2 separate regions of the Homo sapiens genome follow, and region 1 is linked to region 2. The links are contacts of gene promoters, found by promoter capture Hi-C in blood cells and fetal thymus (Javierre and others, 2016). All regions are on one chromosome and are shown on one strand. Each heading gives the region's core, a stretch centred on a gene start or on the middle of the fragment in contact. The rest is flanking DNA. Distances are from core to core; before and after follow the strand shown. Region 1 overlaps SLC6A3 (solute carrier family 6 member 3). Region 2 holds the start of LPCAT1 (lysophosphatidylcholine acyltransferase 1).

Region 1 (7,026 bases), core at 557-3,056, 120 kb before region 2:
GATGGCTCTTGAGTCTAAGCTACCACGTGTGCTGGGCTCTGAGTAAGAAAGTGCCCACACCCAGGTGGGCTGCCTCGGGGCCACCTGCAGCTGACATATTCCGGGAGCACTTGCTTTTTGTCACCTGCAGCTCTTGGGAGAGTGAACGCTGAACGTGCCTTCCTTCCACTGCCCGCTGCGGCAGCTCCTGGGGCCTGGACAGCACCAAGTCCTCCCAGAGCAGGCAGCATCTTCAGGAGCTCACCCTCTCGGGCCTGGATGCCTGTATCTGGATCTCTGAGGCCAGGTGACCTCTCACAGGGACCCCTGTGCGTGGCCCCACCCCACGTCATCACCACAATTCCACTTGTACCTGGCTCAGCTGCTGAGGTTTTACTTGGCTTACGTTCAGAGTTTGGCCATGCGAGGGGTAAGGGCGCTGGCTGTTCAGGTCCGCCGGGCTGTAGGCATCCTCCAGCTCTGCGCTGACCTGGGCCCCGCCTCCCACGTCCATCCAGCCTCCCAGAGGAGCTCTCTCCCTGCAGAGACTGCCCGGCTGCCTGCTCTTCCCCTGTGCTGGGTCCTGGCAGGTCAGCCCGTGGGGGTCTGAGAGGGACTGTCCACAGCAGGGTGCCATCAGCTTTCCTGGGGCCATGGCAGCCCCAGAGCTCCTCCCACTCCACAGAAGCCCCCAGCCACACACTGTGCTTTGCCTGCACTGGGCCTTGGCCTGGCCAGGCTGCTGGAGAGACTGGCTCAGTGCCAGCCTGAGAGCATCTGCCACATGTCTGAGCCCAGGGGACACCGTGTGGCCCTAAGGTGGAATCCTTGAACACAGCTGGTGCTGCTCTGGGGTTTTGATGCCCAGGGCCAAGCGACTTCTTTCTGAGAAAGGCTGGGATTTGAGGAAGCAGCTTCCGGGAGTTCCCAGTGGTGGGATCTCAGGTGAGGGCGACCCTCTTCCAAGGAGGGAGTGTCCTTGTCTCTTCCTGGAACCACAGAGCCAGGGTGTTAAACAGGGCCCTGTGACTGGTCCACCTGCCTTTCTTCTACACAAAGGCGGCAAAACCAAGCAGAAGAAAGGAGATGCATATCAGTGACTCCGCAAAGCTTCCTCCACTGCCTGGGGCTCCAGCTGCCCCTGTTCAGCCAAAGTTGGGCTCGGCCCTGGGGGGACCTAGATCACCCCTGATTCTACCGCCCTCAGATGGCTTCTGTGTCCACCACACCACATACCATAGTGTGTAGGCATGCATGCACTCAGTACACACAAACACTTGGACACGAATGTGAGCACAGACCCAGGCCCACACACACGTGCACACGGAGACAGCACATACAGACACAGAGATACAGTGGATGTACACACAGGCACAAGCACACACAGACACATGCACACACAGACACACACAGACATGTGGACATACTTAAAGACACACACATGAATACACATATGGACGCACACCCATGGGCCCGGGCGTGCAGGTGGACACACACACGCACACACACACACAGTGTTGTGGTGGCCACCTCCAGTCTCCTCCTCTTGGTCACAGATGACCCAGGCAGGTGAGGACTGGGGCCATGGACACCCACGGAGCCTTTCTGGTGGCCTCACACTCGGGTGAAGGCGCCCCGTCCAAATACCCACCTCTCGAAAGGACCCAGGCAGGCTGCAGAACTTGTAGGCCGCATAGATGGGCACCATGGCCATGGAGGATGTGGCGATGACCCAGCCCAGCGCGTTGGCCCAGTCGGGGAAGATGTAGGCTCCGTAGTGGGGGGGTCTGAAGGTCACAATGCTGACCACGACCACGAACTGCAACCAGCAGATACGGAGGTCAGGCAGCTCTCAGCCGGCGGTGCCAGGACAAAGCAGGGAGCGGGCAGGCACTTCATGGCAGAGCGTCTCTCAGCCCCCACAGCTGTGCAGGTGCAGACCCCGGCCAGGCCTGCAGACATGGCAGCTGGGCATCCCGGGCAAGCCATGTCCTCCTGAAGCATGATCTAGCCTGTCCTGTCCTATCCTGTTCTCTCCCCTCCCCTCCCCTCCCATCCCATCCTGTTCCATCACCTCTCCTCCCCTCCCCTCCCATCCTGTTCTGTCCCCTCCCCTCCCCTCCCATCCTGTTCCATCCCCTCTCCTCCCTTCCCCTCCCATCCCATCCTGTTCTATCCCCTCTCCACCCCTCCCCTCCCATCCCATCCCATCATGTTCTATTCCATCCCATCCTGTTCTATTACATCACATCCGGCTCTATCCCATCCCATCTCATCCCATCCCATCCCTTCCTGCTGTATCCCACCTTGTTCTATTCCTTGCTTGAAATCACAACAAAAACAAAACTGACCACCACCCAGTACACTGAATCTATGATCATCCATGGCCTGAAGACACAACTGTGACCCATGCGGGACCACCCTAGGGCCATCTGAGCTCCGTATCTCTACTCATTCTAGAAGCAAATCTGATAAAGTCACAGACCTGTCTCAGAACCACCACCACAAAGGTAACAGAGGGTGGGGTGGATGCCACTTGGAGGGGAAGCTTCCCACTCTCCAGAGGCTTCTCCTGAGGCAGCTCATGCATTTGTTCATCCACTCCACAAACATGCACCACCATCTAAAAAGATCCTCCATGTGCCTACATATGCACCTCACACCTGAATGTGTTCTGTGCACCCACATGTGTACTGCACGCCTACATATGTGTTCTGTGTACCTGGGTCCTTCCCAAGGACACAAGTGAAGCTCTGATAGATATGGTTTATGATGTAGCTTAAAATGCAATTTTTTCCCAATTGTCCACTTTTCCTCAATTTCAGAAAAGTTAAAACATCCAAGCCTTCCACCTGAAAAGCATGTTGGACGCGTGTCTCATGCCAGTCTCAGCATCTTCTTCATGCGCTACTTCGGGCCACTTGTAGGTTTGGAGCCGGCTAGCGGAGGACTGGGATGGGGGCTGGGGTTGTGTCTGTCACGTGACCAGAGCCAGGGTGAGCAGCACTTTGGCGAGCAAAGCCAGTGGCCTGCAGCATCTGGGATCAGGGGCGGCTGCCTTGGCTGCACAGAGAGCCCTGAGCATGCTTTAAAGAGCCACGCGTGCATCCCTGGACATGTCGGGCTTGCCTATCTGACATGGAGGTATTGCTGTAATGTGCTCTCTGTTATTGTTCAACTTCTTGCTAGATACCACCTTTCTTAGAAAGAACTATGCCTCCCCAGGCCACAGTCTGCCCATGTAAGTTGCCTTTGCTCCGGCATAATTTCCCTTTAGCAGTGCTGTGGCATCATCTGCCACAGAGTCATCTGAACGAGACTGGGGCGTGTACACCCCTTACGACCAGAGGTTAGCACACGCCAGAGGGCAGGGGACTATGCCGCAGCCTGAAGAAACAGATGATAACACAGACGTTATGTTTCTGCTGAAATCAGAACTTCATAGGAATTGTGCTGTCATATTAAATACAAAATGACATAGAGCAATGAAATTGTCATGTTTCTCTCAACTTGGCAAAATGAAGTCCTGTTTCGTATAGTTTGTAGTTTTATCTAAAAGTCTACGAAGTGTGTTTCTGTATGAAGTTCGAAGATTTAGTCTAAGATCAGTAGAACATTTTATCTCCTAAGATCGAGGTCAGCCCTCTGGGTGTTAAGAGGAGACACCCCCTCAAGGGGAGCCAACGTCCTCATGCAAAACAGCTCAGTTTCAACTAATGGCGGGGGAGAGCGGGAGGTGGGCAGGAGGCTGACTTTCTGGGAGGGCTTCCTCACTTTCCCCTCTGAACAGCCATGTAGTCTGTGTGCTATTAAAAGCCCGCCCCATGAATCCAGGAACCTTCAACGGGAGCCTTCACAAGCGCAGTTAACTGGACTTGGAACACTTACGTGCAGCCACACCACGCGGCCTGGAGCTCAGACACGGTGGAATTTCTACAAGATGCCGGGCAGGTTCTCTCACACTATGTTGAGCTCCTCCGGGATAGGGCCTGTCTCTCATCTCTTTCCTGTACCCCGGAACCCCTCTGCTGGCAACTACGGGGCTGTCCCACCTGCTGTGTGCAGGTGACGAGGGGTCTCCACGCACGCGGGCCCTGCTGACTCCGGGACCAGCCCTTGGTCCATGAGAGGGTGCGGCCTGAGTCCCCTGCCCTGTTCCAGTCCCCACCTCGTGCCTGCTGGACTCGGGAGGTGCTTCTCTACGTGAGCAGCTCACGGGACACTCTGCTTAGACTTGGACAGCTCTTAGGTTGCCTGCCCAGATCAGGCAGCACAGCTTTGCTTTGTGAGCCTCCAGGCCTCTGTGGTTCAGTGGGGGAAGCACTGCAGGCAATCCCTAATGAAAGTGTGCGGCCACCTTCCAACAAAACTCTATTTACAAACACCAGCGTCCGACGGCCTTGCCCGGTGGGCCCTGACTCGGTGGCGGATGACAGAAGCAAGTGCCTACTGGACACAGTGATGCTGCTGAGCCAGAGGGAGGCTTGCGTGAGCAACGGGACAGGGCCGAGGCCCCTGCTGCTCTCATCCAGCACTCGGCATCCTTTGTCCCCACTGCCCCGGAAGCTCTAACTTCGACCTTGATCCTCACAGGCAGAGGTGAGTGGACAGCCCGACTCACCTCCAGCTTCCCCTCCCAACACAGAGGCGCGGCCCAAGTGCAGGACTCACAACGGACTGTGACAGGGGTCCAAGACCATGTGAGGTTTTTTCGGTGGGTCTAGAGGGGAGGGTGGAAGCCACCTTAAGGAGACTATAGATGAGTTCAGGGATCAGCCTGTCCTTCTGGGCCGAGTCTTGAGGCCCCTGACTCCAGCCACAGTGACAACCCACATGCGGGCGCTGGACCTCGGGGCAGGTGCCAGAGTGGGGGCAGTGGGCAGACGGGGGAAGGGCAGGTGGCCCGAGGTCCCTTACCAGGAGAAAGCAGGGGCTGACCAGCTTCCAGCACAGCCGCCAGTACAGGCTGGGCCGCTGCCCGGTCATCTGCTGGATGTCGTCGCTGAACTGCCCAACACCTGAGGGAGAAGAGGTGGCATCAGTGTCCATCAGGGCAGCGCATTCCCCCGATGCTGGACACGTGTGGGGGTCCTCGCTGACTCCCAAGGGCCCCACCTACCGGCCCCAGGCTTCGGCTGCACCCAGCCTCCTGCAGAGGAGGCCAGGCCACACCCCAGCCCACTGGGTGCCTCGCTGACGGGTGGGAGCCCACGTGCCTGCTCCACCCTGGAGATGCACCAGGAAGAGCCGTGCCCCGGTGGGTGCTCCCCGCGCCCCGGCAACAGCCCCTCGGGTCCTCCTCCCCATCCCATGGCTCTCCCTGTCTCCCTCTGCTGCTGGTACTTCTTGTTCACTTAAAAAGATTATGGTAAAATACACATAACATAAAACTTACCATTTTAGCCATTTTTACGTGTAGAGTTCATAATGTATCAATACATTCACATACTGTGTAACCGTCACCACCGTCCATCTTCAGAACTCCATCCTCCAAAATGAAATTCTGCCCTCATGAAACGCCAACTCCTCCCGACCCCCAACCCCCGCCAGGCCCCAGCACCATCTGCTTTTTGTCTCAATGAATGTGACTCCTGTGGGAACCTCCCGTCAGTGGAGTCACGTGGCACGGGGCCTCTGCAACTGGTTTACTCCCTGTAGAGTGTCCCTGAGGCCACCTAAGCTGCGGCCCACATCAGCATTCCCTTTTGTTTTAAGGCCGAATCATATTCCGTCATGAGTATACCGTCACTGTGTCTTCAGAAAAGCTATTTCTAGAAACATAATAAACATTTTTTCTCCCCAAAAGCAAGTACCAGCAGTCCACTTTAGAAATGCATATTTTTCTTTCACTGGTATTATCTAACTTCTTCTAGGAACTGACCCTAAGACCTTAAGAGTGGTTTCTCCCCCCACATCTGGCCTGGTCTGTGACTCGTGTGACCGCGGCTGATCTGCTGAGATTTGGGGCAAGTCTTGCGGTTGTCCCGTGTCCCATCAGAAAGAAGCCTCCACACAGAATCCCCTCTTCACACCCACCCGGCATCCGAGCTCTGAACATGAGAGATGGACGTGGGAGGCAGCGGGGATGCAGAGAGGTGAGGCCGGAAGAAGCCAAGAGGGGCGTCCCCAAGGCCCCTCGGCCCCCAGACCCTGCCTCCCACCAGCAGGTCCCAGGGCCCCTGCCGGAGCAGGAGTCATCAGCTCCAAGACCTACAGGACCGCAGCGTGCTGGAAGCCCGGCGTATTCCGGCACATCTTATTAGAGCACAGGTTTTGTTTCATTTAGATGAGAGGGGCGTGGATTTCTCTTTGGAAAAATAACACAGATCTCGGTCTTCTGAGGTGCAGGTCGCCAGGGCCGGCTTCTCCCCATCTCCCGTGGTTCCGGAGGCCATGGCAATTCAAGGCACTTTCTCCCTTCCTCTGTGAAGGTCTATGTTTTGTTCAGGGAAGATGACAATGAAAGTGATAGACAAAGTATTGATTCCAGACACCCGTGAAAGTACGAGGTTGATATTTCCGTTTTCTGTAGAGCAACACTGAAAACAATGTTCTCAGAATAGGAGCTATTTGTCCTATTTGTCTCAAAGTCAGGGCGTTTATCTGGCTATAAATTCCATGGCTCTGAGGCAGAGAAAATGACCCCCTTGTTTGCAGGTGAGCTGGGCGTCCTCCAAAACCGGGGCTCACGCAGCACCACAGACATTCAGCTTTCAGCCGGATCCACACATTTTTTTTTTTCTTTTTTGAGACGGAGTCTCACTCTGTTGCCCAGGCTGGAGTGCAGTGGTGCAATCTCGGGTGACTGCAACCTCCGCCTTCCGGGTTCAAGCTGAATCATATTCCATCGTAAGTATACCATCAGTGTCTTCAGAAAATCTACAGCCTCCTGACTAGCTGGGATTATAGCCTTGTGCCACCACACCCGGCTAATTTTTTTTTTTTTTTTTTTTAGTAAAGATGGGGTTTTACCATGTTGGCCAGGATGGTCTTGATCTCTTGATCTCGTGATCTGCCCACCTCGGCCTCCCAAAGTGCTGGGATTAC
Region 2 (7,504 bases), core at 2,285-4,784:
GGCGGGCACCCAGCAGCCTCCTCCACTCTGAGACAGCAACGCCCGTCCAAGGACTCAGCTCCAAGGTGCACAGGAAGGCATTATGCTTTCCAGGATGTAAGTTCTTGCCAACTCTGGTTCCGAGCAGCAGAGACTTTAGAAATGGGGAAAATGGGCCGGGCGCGGTGGTTCACGCCTGTAATCCCAGCACTTTGGGAGGCCGAGGCGGGAGGATCACAAGGTCAGGAGATCGAGACCATCCTGGCTAACACGGTGAGACCCCATCTCTACTAAAAATACAAAAAAAAATTAGCCGGGCATTGTGGCGGGCGCCTGTAGTCCCAGCTACTCGGGAGGCTGAGGCAGGAGAATGGCGTGAACCCGGGAAGCAGAGCTTGTAGTGAGCCGATATCGCACCTCTGCACTCCAGCCTGGGCGACAGAGAGAGACTGTCTCAAAAAAAAAAAAAAAAAAAGAAAAAGAAAAAGAAAAAAAAAAGAAATGGGGAAAACGCATCAGAACCATAGTGGGAAATACTCATACCCACAGATTCCAAGGAAAGTACCGAGAAAACCCTGGGTGACAGAAACCACTTCATGACTCCAAAACGATATATGAATGTGTGACTATGAAGAACCTCAGCTGAACTCACTAAGATCCTGTACCATACCATTTACCGCTCTCTACTAAATCTATATCCTTGCTTTAGCCAGAGGATTAAAACATTGCACGTATTACAGACCCTGATGGCTTTGATACCTCTTTTCAGATCTTAATGTGCTGTTTTCTGTCCAAAGAGATACTTAAGCTCCTCACTAAATCTGTAGTTAAATGACAGATGGGCTGGCTGGAGGAGGAGGTGTCCCCGCATGGCGCTAATCCGAAGACACACAGCAGCCCCTCCCAGGCGGCAAATGCTCACAGGTAAATGCAGGTACTCACTGGTTTATCTCAACTGGGAACTTAGCTGGGTTTCTGCGGGTTCTTGAGTGTGTCAGCCACTACTGGACCCATTTCTTTCTTTGGGGAAGAAGGCTTTCTTGGCTTGAAAGACAGGCTATTTCACTCTGTGGAAACTTTACAAGAATATATCACATCAAAGTAAAAGCTTTGCAAAGCAATGCTTGGTGAAAAGCAAAATGTTTCTGCAGAGAACTTTGAGAACGTTTACAAACTAAACCCTTGAGCCACACATTGCAGACATCCAGCAGAAACGACTGGATGTACAAACACACCTAATTCCTCAGATGGAACCTCTGAAGTGGCAACAAAGCAAGCCCCCTCTCTGAGAGGCCCCAACACCTCAAGCCAGGATCTCTGCCTGGCTTCGGCCCAAGGGAGAACAGCTGCCCAAAGCCTTCAATCTCGGGACCAGGAGCCTCTCGATGACCCCCTGCCCAAGAGCCACTGGGAGCAGCTTGCACCCTGAGGTCTCGGGGAGGAAAGCAGGCCCCTCTGGGCACTCTGGCAGTGCCCTGACATCTGTACCTACCCATGAGAGTCTCTGCCCTGCTTCTCGCCAGGGCAGTGGGTGCACACTTTTGGACAGAACACACCTCAACCGGGGGCTGCAACTATGACAGGGATGACGAAGTGGCCTCCGGGGACCTCCAGGGAGGGGCTTGATGTTTCCCCCCAGGGAGCCAGGAGGGAGTAGGAAAGGCAGGAAGAGAGAGCATGCCTGAGGCAGCCATAGCTGGGGCAGGAGCAGGGCTGGGGAAGCCCTGGAAACCACAGCAGGGGTTCGAATTTCATCCGGGGGCGTCCCCGCTGAGGGCTTCCGAGCAGCAGAGTGCAGGAGGAAGAAAGCCTGCTGGGAGTGACTCAGGGAGAGTGACCAGGGAGAGAGCCTGGTGGCTGGGTGGGGGTGAGGATTGAAGAGGAGGAATGGTTGAGGGGCACAGAATGAGCGACCGTGTCCCAAGTCCTCCTTTGAGGGGCACAGCACACGGCAGCTGACAGCGTGTGGCAGACAGAGGGCCAGGCAGAGCGGCGGCAGAGGGGCCGGCACCGCCCCAGCCCCAGAGTCCAGCTCCCGACACACAGGGAGACGGGGGCCAGGGCCTGGGAGCCAGGCTGGGGACGACCTCACCCTGTGTGTCACCAGGAGGGGCGGCACCATCGGGCTCTCCTGCTCCCCGTCCCCTTCCATACCCTGAGGACCAGCCGCATCAAGGGGCTTTGAGCAAAAGCAGGCGTCCTGGGAAAATGACAAGCTCAAACTGGCCTCAAGAACTTTTCACTTCAGGGTTCTTTCAGATAAAGTACTTTATGCATTAACAAATCTCCATCTTCCCGGAAATCTATTCTCACAATTGGAAGCGTGCTCCCTACAAACCGGACAGCCCCATAGGCCCCGAAACAGTGCTTGCTTCTAGGAATTATTCTAGAGTCAAAAGTAAGGTCCTCTTGAGAGTGGATCTCAGGTAACTGTAAGCCCAGCTGGCAGCCAGGTAGCCGGAAAAGCCAGGCTGAGCCAGCACATCCCCGGTGCAGCTTCCTGCAGCGAGCGGCCCCCTCCCCACGACGCCCCCGGGTCTCCCCTCACCACTGTCCCATCGCAGGATCTCAGCAAACCGTTCCCTCCCACGTGGCAGCCCAGGTTGCATAAAGTTGATTCGGGTCAGACCAGCCCCGAGAAAGCATCCCTTACAACAGGAGCGAAGCATGCACCCCAGAAGGCAACGTGCGGCCGCAGAGCAGGGAGACCCGTGCGCCTACAGGGGACCCTACAGGGGACCCGCACCGCCCGCGCGCCCTGTCCCGGGCACCACCAGGCCCCGCACACGAGGCTCACCCAGAGCCGCGGTGCCCTCCCGCCCGCGGGCCGCGTCCAGGCAAAGCCGCTCCGGAGTCCCCGGGCTGCGCGCAGGGCCTGCCAAGGCGGGCGGGGCCCGGACCAGGGACGAGCGCGGGGACCGGCGATGCGGGTCCAGCCTCCCGCGGGAGCCGAGGTCGGGGCTCTGGGAGGCAGAGAAAGGGTTGTGGGCCCGGTTCAGGGTGCAGGGGTCTGGGGGGAGGAGCAGAACGCGGGGCGGGGATGGGAAGCGGGGACCCCGAGGAAGGCGCTGAGGGACCAGGATGCGCGTGCGGGCGGCGGGAAGCCGGCGCCGAGACCGAGGCATCGGGTGCGGGCGGCGGGGACGCGAACTGAGGGGCGGCCGCGGGGAGGGAAGGCGCCGCGGCTCGCAGGGCCGCGCCGCGCCCCAGGCCCCCTCCCCGGCCCCTCCTCGGCCGCGCCTCCCTGGCCCCAGCATCCCTGGCGTCCGCGCCGGCTCCCGGGGCCGCGCGCCCTGGGCACCCACCTGGGCCTTCTGCAGGGCGCTGAGGCGCAGCTCGTGCACGAAGGGGTTCCGCCCCGGGGGCGCCAGCAGCCGAGCGTCGCTGGCCCCTGCGCTGGAGGCAGGGGCGGCCCGGGGTCCGCATCCCCGCAGCCTCATGGCCGCGCCGTCCCGCGGCGAGCGCAGCCGAGCTGCCTGGGGCGCCGAGCGGGGCCGGGGCTAGCTGGGCGCGGGTCTCGGGGCGCGGGCCGAGGATGCGCGGCGGCTGGAGCGGGCCGGGCGCGCAGGCGCGGGAGGTGACGTGGGCGGAGCGGGAGCGCCGGCCGGGGCGGGGCGTCCCTGGAAGCCTCGCCTCCCGCCGGCCGGCAGGGGCGGCACCAGCCGGAGTTCCGCTACCTGGTGGTTTCTCTGGGGTCTGTGGGGGGCCGGGGCCGCTGGGGACCGGGGGCGCCTCCTGCAGCCACTGGAGCACAGGGATCCCCGGCAGGGTCTGCGCCAGGAGAAAGGGAGGTCCCCCGGGCCCGCGAGGCTGCCACGTCGTCCCCTTCCGCCGCTCGGCCCGCCTGCTCGCGGGGAGGGAGGAAGGGGCGGGCACGCGTCCAGCTTACGCGCAAGGCGGGCCAGGCCCTGGGTGCCGAGCCCCGGGCTGTTCCGGCGAAGGCCCCACGCCATTCTTCTTATTCGTTGGGCTCCTAGCTCGCACCGGCGACCCTGGAAGCTGCCCCGGGCTGAGGGAGCTTCTTCCAGCCGCGCCTCAGCCCAGGCGACTCCCGCCTGAGGTCCACTCGACCTTAGGACCCCCCAGACCTCGGGATCCCCTCAGATCTCAGGACCCCTCAAGCCTCAGGACCCCCTCAGACCTCAGGACCCCTCCGATCTCAGGACCTCTCAGGCCTCAGGCCCCGCAGGGATGGCCCAGGCAGGAGGCGCACATAGGGGCCCTGACTGTCCGTGCTGGTTGTGCAGGGGCTGCGATGAGATCCCAGCGCTTTCTCACCCGTAGCTGCTTTGGCTCGGGCATTGCCCTTGTGGTGCTCAGGAGCCGTGTGAGGAGCCCCAGGGTGGGGCCCATAATTAGCCGGAGCGAGAGTAGGATGGGCTCCTGCCTCCGGGTGAACACGCTTGGATTTCAGAACTCACGCAGGCCTTCGGTCACAGTGCTCACGGCTTCCTCACCCCGGCTGGCCCTGTTGGTTCCTTCATGGCCAACGGACCTCACCCAGACAGAGCCGGTTTGGGCCACCTGGCCAACCCCCCAGGGTCCTGGCTCCTGGGGATGTCACTGCTGTGTTGGCCCCAGCTGGGCCCCATCCTCAGCAGACGCCAGGGAGTGCCCCGACCCCTCCAATGACCCTGCCTGCGCCCTTGTGGACCTCATAGTGCAGCGGGCTGGCAGAGACCCTTCTGTGTCTGAGACCGGGGTGAGGGCCAGGGGTCTGTGCCATCCACATATCATGCACAGAGAAGGCCCCGGCAGGCCAGACCCGCTGCATGGCCTTATTCCTGCCCCATAAGAGTCCCAGCCCATATTCCTGCCCCATAAGAGTCCCAGCCCATGCCTAGCAGCAGCACCTGTCCCAAGTGCCACACCCACGGGGATGGGGTGAGCCCTGTGTGCTGGTGGGCATTGGTGGCTCTGTGGCCCAGCCACCAGCGTTGCACCCACCTCCTGGGCTTTTAGTGGCCACTTGCTCTGATCCCCAAAACCAGAGCCCAGCACCCGAGGCCACCCAAGGCTCCTCACCGAACTGATCATCAAGAAAGCCCAGGACACAAAGCCTGCCAGCCACAGGGCAGCACCTGCACCCCAGCGATCCAGGCGGCCCCACCTGCTGCCTGAGTGCTCTGGAGAGGAGGGGCCCTAGGGTGTCCCAGTCCTGGGATGAGAGCAGCCTCAGGACTGGACTTGGAGAGCCATGAAAGTGGGGTCCTCCCAGAAGCACAGGCCAGGAAGCGGTGTGTGGCGGAGGGGAAACCTGCTGGAGATGGTGCAGAGCCAGATTCAATGGGGAGAGCTGCCAGAGAGTCATGGCTGTGTCCCCAGAAGATGCAAAAGTCCTAACCCACAGCACCTGTGGCCGCGACCTTATTTGGAAACAGGGTCTTTGCAGATGATCAGGTTAAGAGGAAGTCATTAGGGTGGGCCCTAGTCTGAAATGGCTTGTGTCCCTATAGAGAGGGAGATTCGGTCTCAGAGACAGACACAGAGAGAGCTCCATGGGAAGGCCAGGGTTCTGCTGCTACAGGCAAGCAGTTCCCAGGAGCTGGAGAGGCCTGGAGCAGGTCCTCTCTAGTGCTCTCAGAGGGAGCCTAGGCCTAGGGTGCCATGATCGCAGGCTTCTGGCCTCCAGACTGGGAGAGAATAAATTCCTTCTGCTTTAACCTGCAGAGTGCAAAGTGAGTTGGAACCCAGGGAAGGAGGTGGGGAGGCTGGGGGAAGAACCTCATACTGCCCGGCAATCTAAGCAGGGTCAGCAGGTTGTCCTTGAGCCAAGGTCGGTGGAAAGAGGAGTCCCTCTCCCAGAGGGGTCTTAGGTGGAGCCACTGTGGGCAGCGTGGCCTTGGTGTAGAAGCTCAGTGGATCCTTGGGTCACAGGCACCATGTGGAGGAGGCGCAGAGGCCCAGCTCCGGGGTCAGTACACAAGGGGGCACAGCTGGGAGGGTGGGTGTGACAGGGCCAAGGGCTGTGCAGAGCAGGGGGCAGGACTGGGGCACACTCGTCCTCACCAAGCAGAACCCAAGAAGGCCCCAGAGAGCGGCCAAGGAGCGGAGGTCCCCAGAGGGGCTGAGTCCACGGAACTGCCCCATCCAGGAGGACTGGCCAGGAGAGAACTGGGAAGGCCAGCCAGTGGTAGTAGCAAGGGTGGAGACCACCACCCTGCAGGGTGCTGTGGAGTGGGCAGGAGTTACAGAGGTTCTTTCCCAGCTACCTGAGAAAGGAGGAAGCGTGATGGGCAGGAGGAGGAAAATGGATGCTTGGCGGGAGGCTGGGATCCAGGGCAGCAGCTCAAGGAAGGGGCCCAGGACATGTTCCTGGGTGGAAGGCAACAGGCCAGCCTCACAGGAGACGTTGAAAACCCCTGTGAGAGGGGGTGTCATGGGCCCATCTCAGTCTGGAAGGATTCTGCGCTCAGAGGAAGGAAAGGCCTGGGGCCCGGAGCGGGGACTCCTTCTCTGCTGCAGCTGGAAGGGGTTGGATGGTCCACAGGGCACGTGCCCAGGGGGTGGGGAGCTGGGGCACTCTTGTGTGTGGGAGTCAGTTTTCTCCTGGGGACTGCGAGGGGTGGGGGAGAGGGGCTGCTTATGGGGAAATCAGCGCAAGCGTGGAGGAGCAGCAAGGAAATTCCTCCACCCACACTGGGCCTTCACACTTAGGCTTTGGTTCTGCTATGTAATGGAACGTTCTTAAGACCTGGAGGGTCTGGAAGCTTGACTAAGAGAAGTTGGTCTTGGGTGGGGAGGTATAAGCAGTTTTCTCTGTCTAGCAGGGGAAACATGAGTTTCTCATTAGGACTTAGTTTTGGGAAAACCACCCTAAGGGCCCTTTAGCTACAAAGGGAGCCCCCACTGTGGTTCTCAGGAACCTCCTGGAAGCCCCCCACAGCTCCCTGGGGCTGGTAACCACACCCCTGAGGCTTCTTGCTCTGGTTTTGTCTCTGTTTTAAGAGTGTAAGCTCACAGAGAAGTGTTTCCTATACTCCAAGTGCATTGAGAACACAAGGTACCTGCTTGTTCTGGTAAGGCTGAGTATTTTTGTTTTGTTTGTTTAATTTTTGAATTTTAGAGTTATCTATAGGATAGAAAAAGATATTCTCCTTCATTTTCTACTAACATCTTTTTTCAGTTCTGCCTTTCATGGTTGCATTTTATTCTATTTGAAGATTTTTTTCTCTGCATGGAGACCTGATATTCTCAACACCACGTATCAATCACAGACTCCCACTTGTGGGTCCACTTCCAGCATGAACAGAAAGAAGGGTTCCTGAAGCTCCTTCTGGCTGCCCCATCTCACCCATTGGTCCGTGTACTCCTTTACTCCCGTCTCACCCGCCGGTCCGCGTACTCCTTTACTCCTGTCTCACACCTTTCAACCGTCTGCCTTAGTAACTGTAGAGGGGGTTCCTTCCTGTTGGCGCTTCTTCCCAAGAATTGTAGTAGGAATTCAGGGAATTTTATTTTTCCATCCAAATTTTGGAAGCAGTTGTCCCCATTGCTAAAAATTCCCGCTGGAAGCTTCCTTTTG

The links. Contacts are between HindIII fragments. The CHiCAGO score rates a contact against its expected background, and 5 or more counts as called.
Region 1: a contact is called between a fragment that was not itself captured here and the fragment with the promoter of LPCAT1 in region 2, in 1 of 17 cell types (total B cells). The highest score is 5.3, in total B cells.

Annotation. Positions count from the first base shown.
Region 1 is chr5:1,401,292-1,408,317 of GRCh38, forward strand. It overlaps SLC6A3 (solute carrier family 6 member 3), which reads right to left. Exons shown (of 15, transcript NM_001044.5): 12 at 4,897-4,997; 13 at 1,631-1,798. Among named protein-coding and RNA genes, the nearest start is that of LINC01511, 25 kb to the left of the region's middle. RefSeq lists an enhancer at 3,552-4,751. The HindIII fragment of the contact is 1,438 bases long and covers 1,088-2,525 here.
Region 2 is chr5:1,520,426-1,527,929 of GRCh38, forward strand. LPCAT1 (lysophosphatidylcholine acyltransferase 1) reads right to left here and starts at 3,535. Exons shown (of 14, transcript NM_024830.5): 1 at 3,285-3,535. The coding sequence starts at 3,419. RefSeq lists an enhancer at 1,058-1,562, silencers at 2,723-2,922, 3,193-3,502, 3,523-3,922 and a cis regulatory region at 4,692-4,927. The HindIII fragment of the contact is 5,602 bases long and covers 1,086-6,687 here.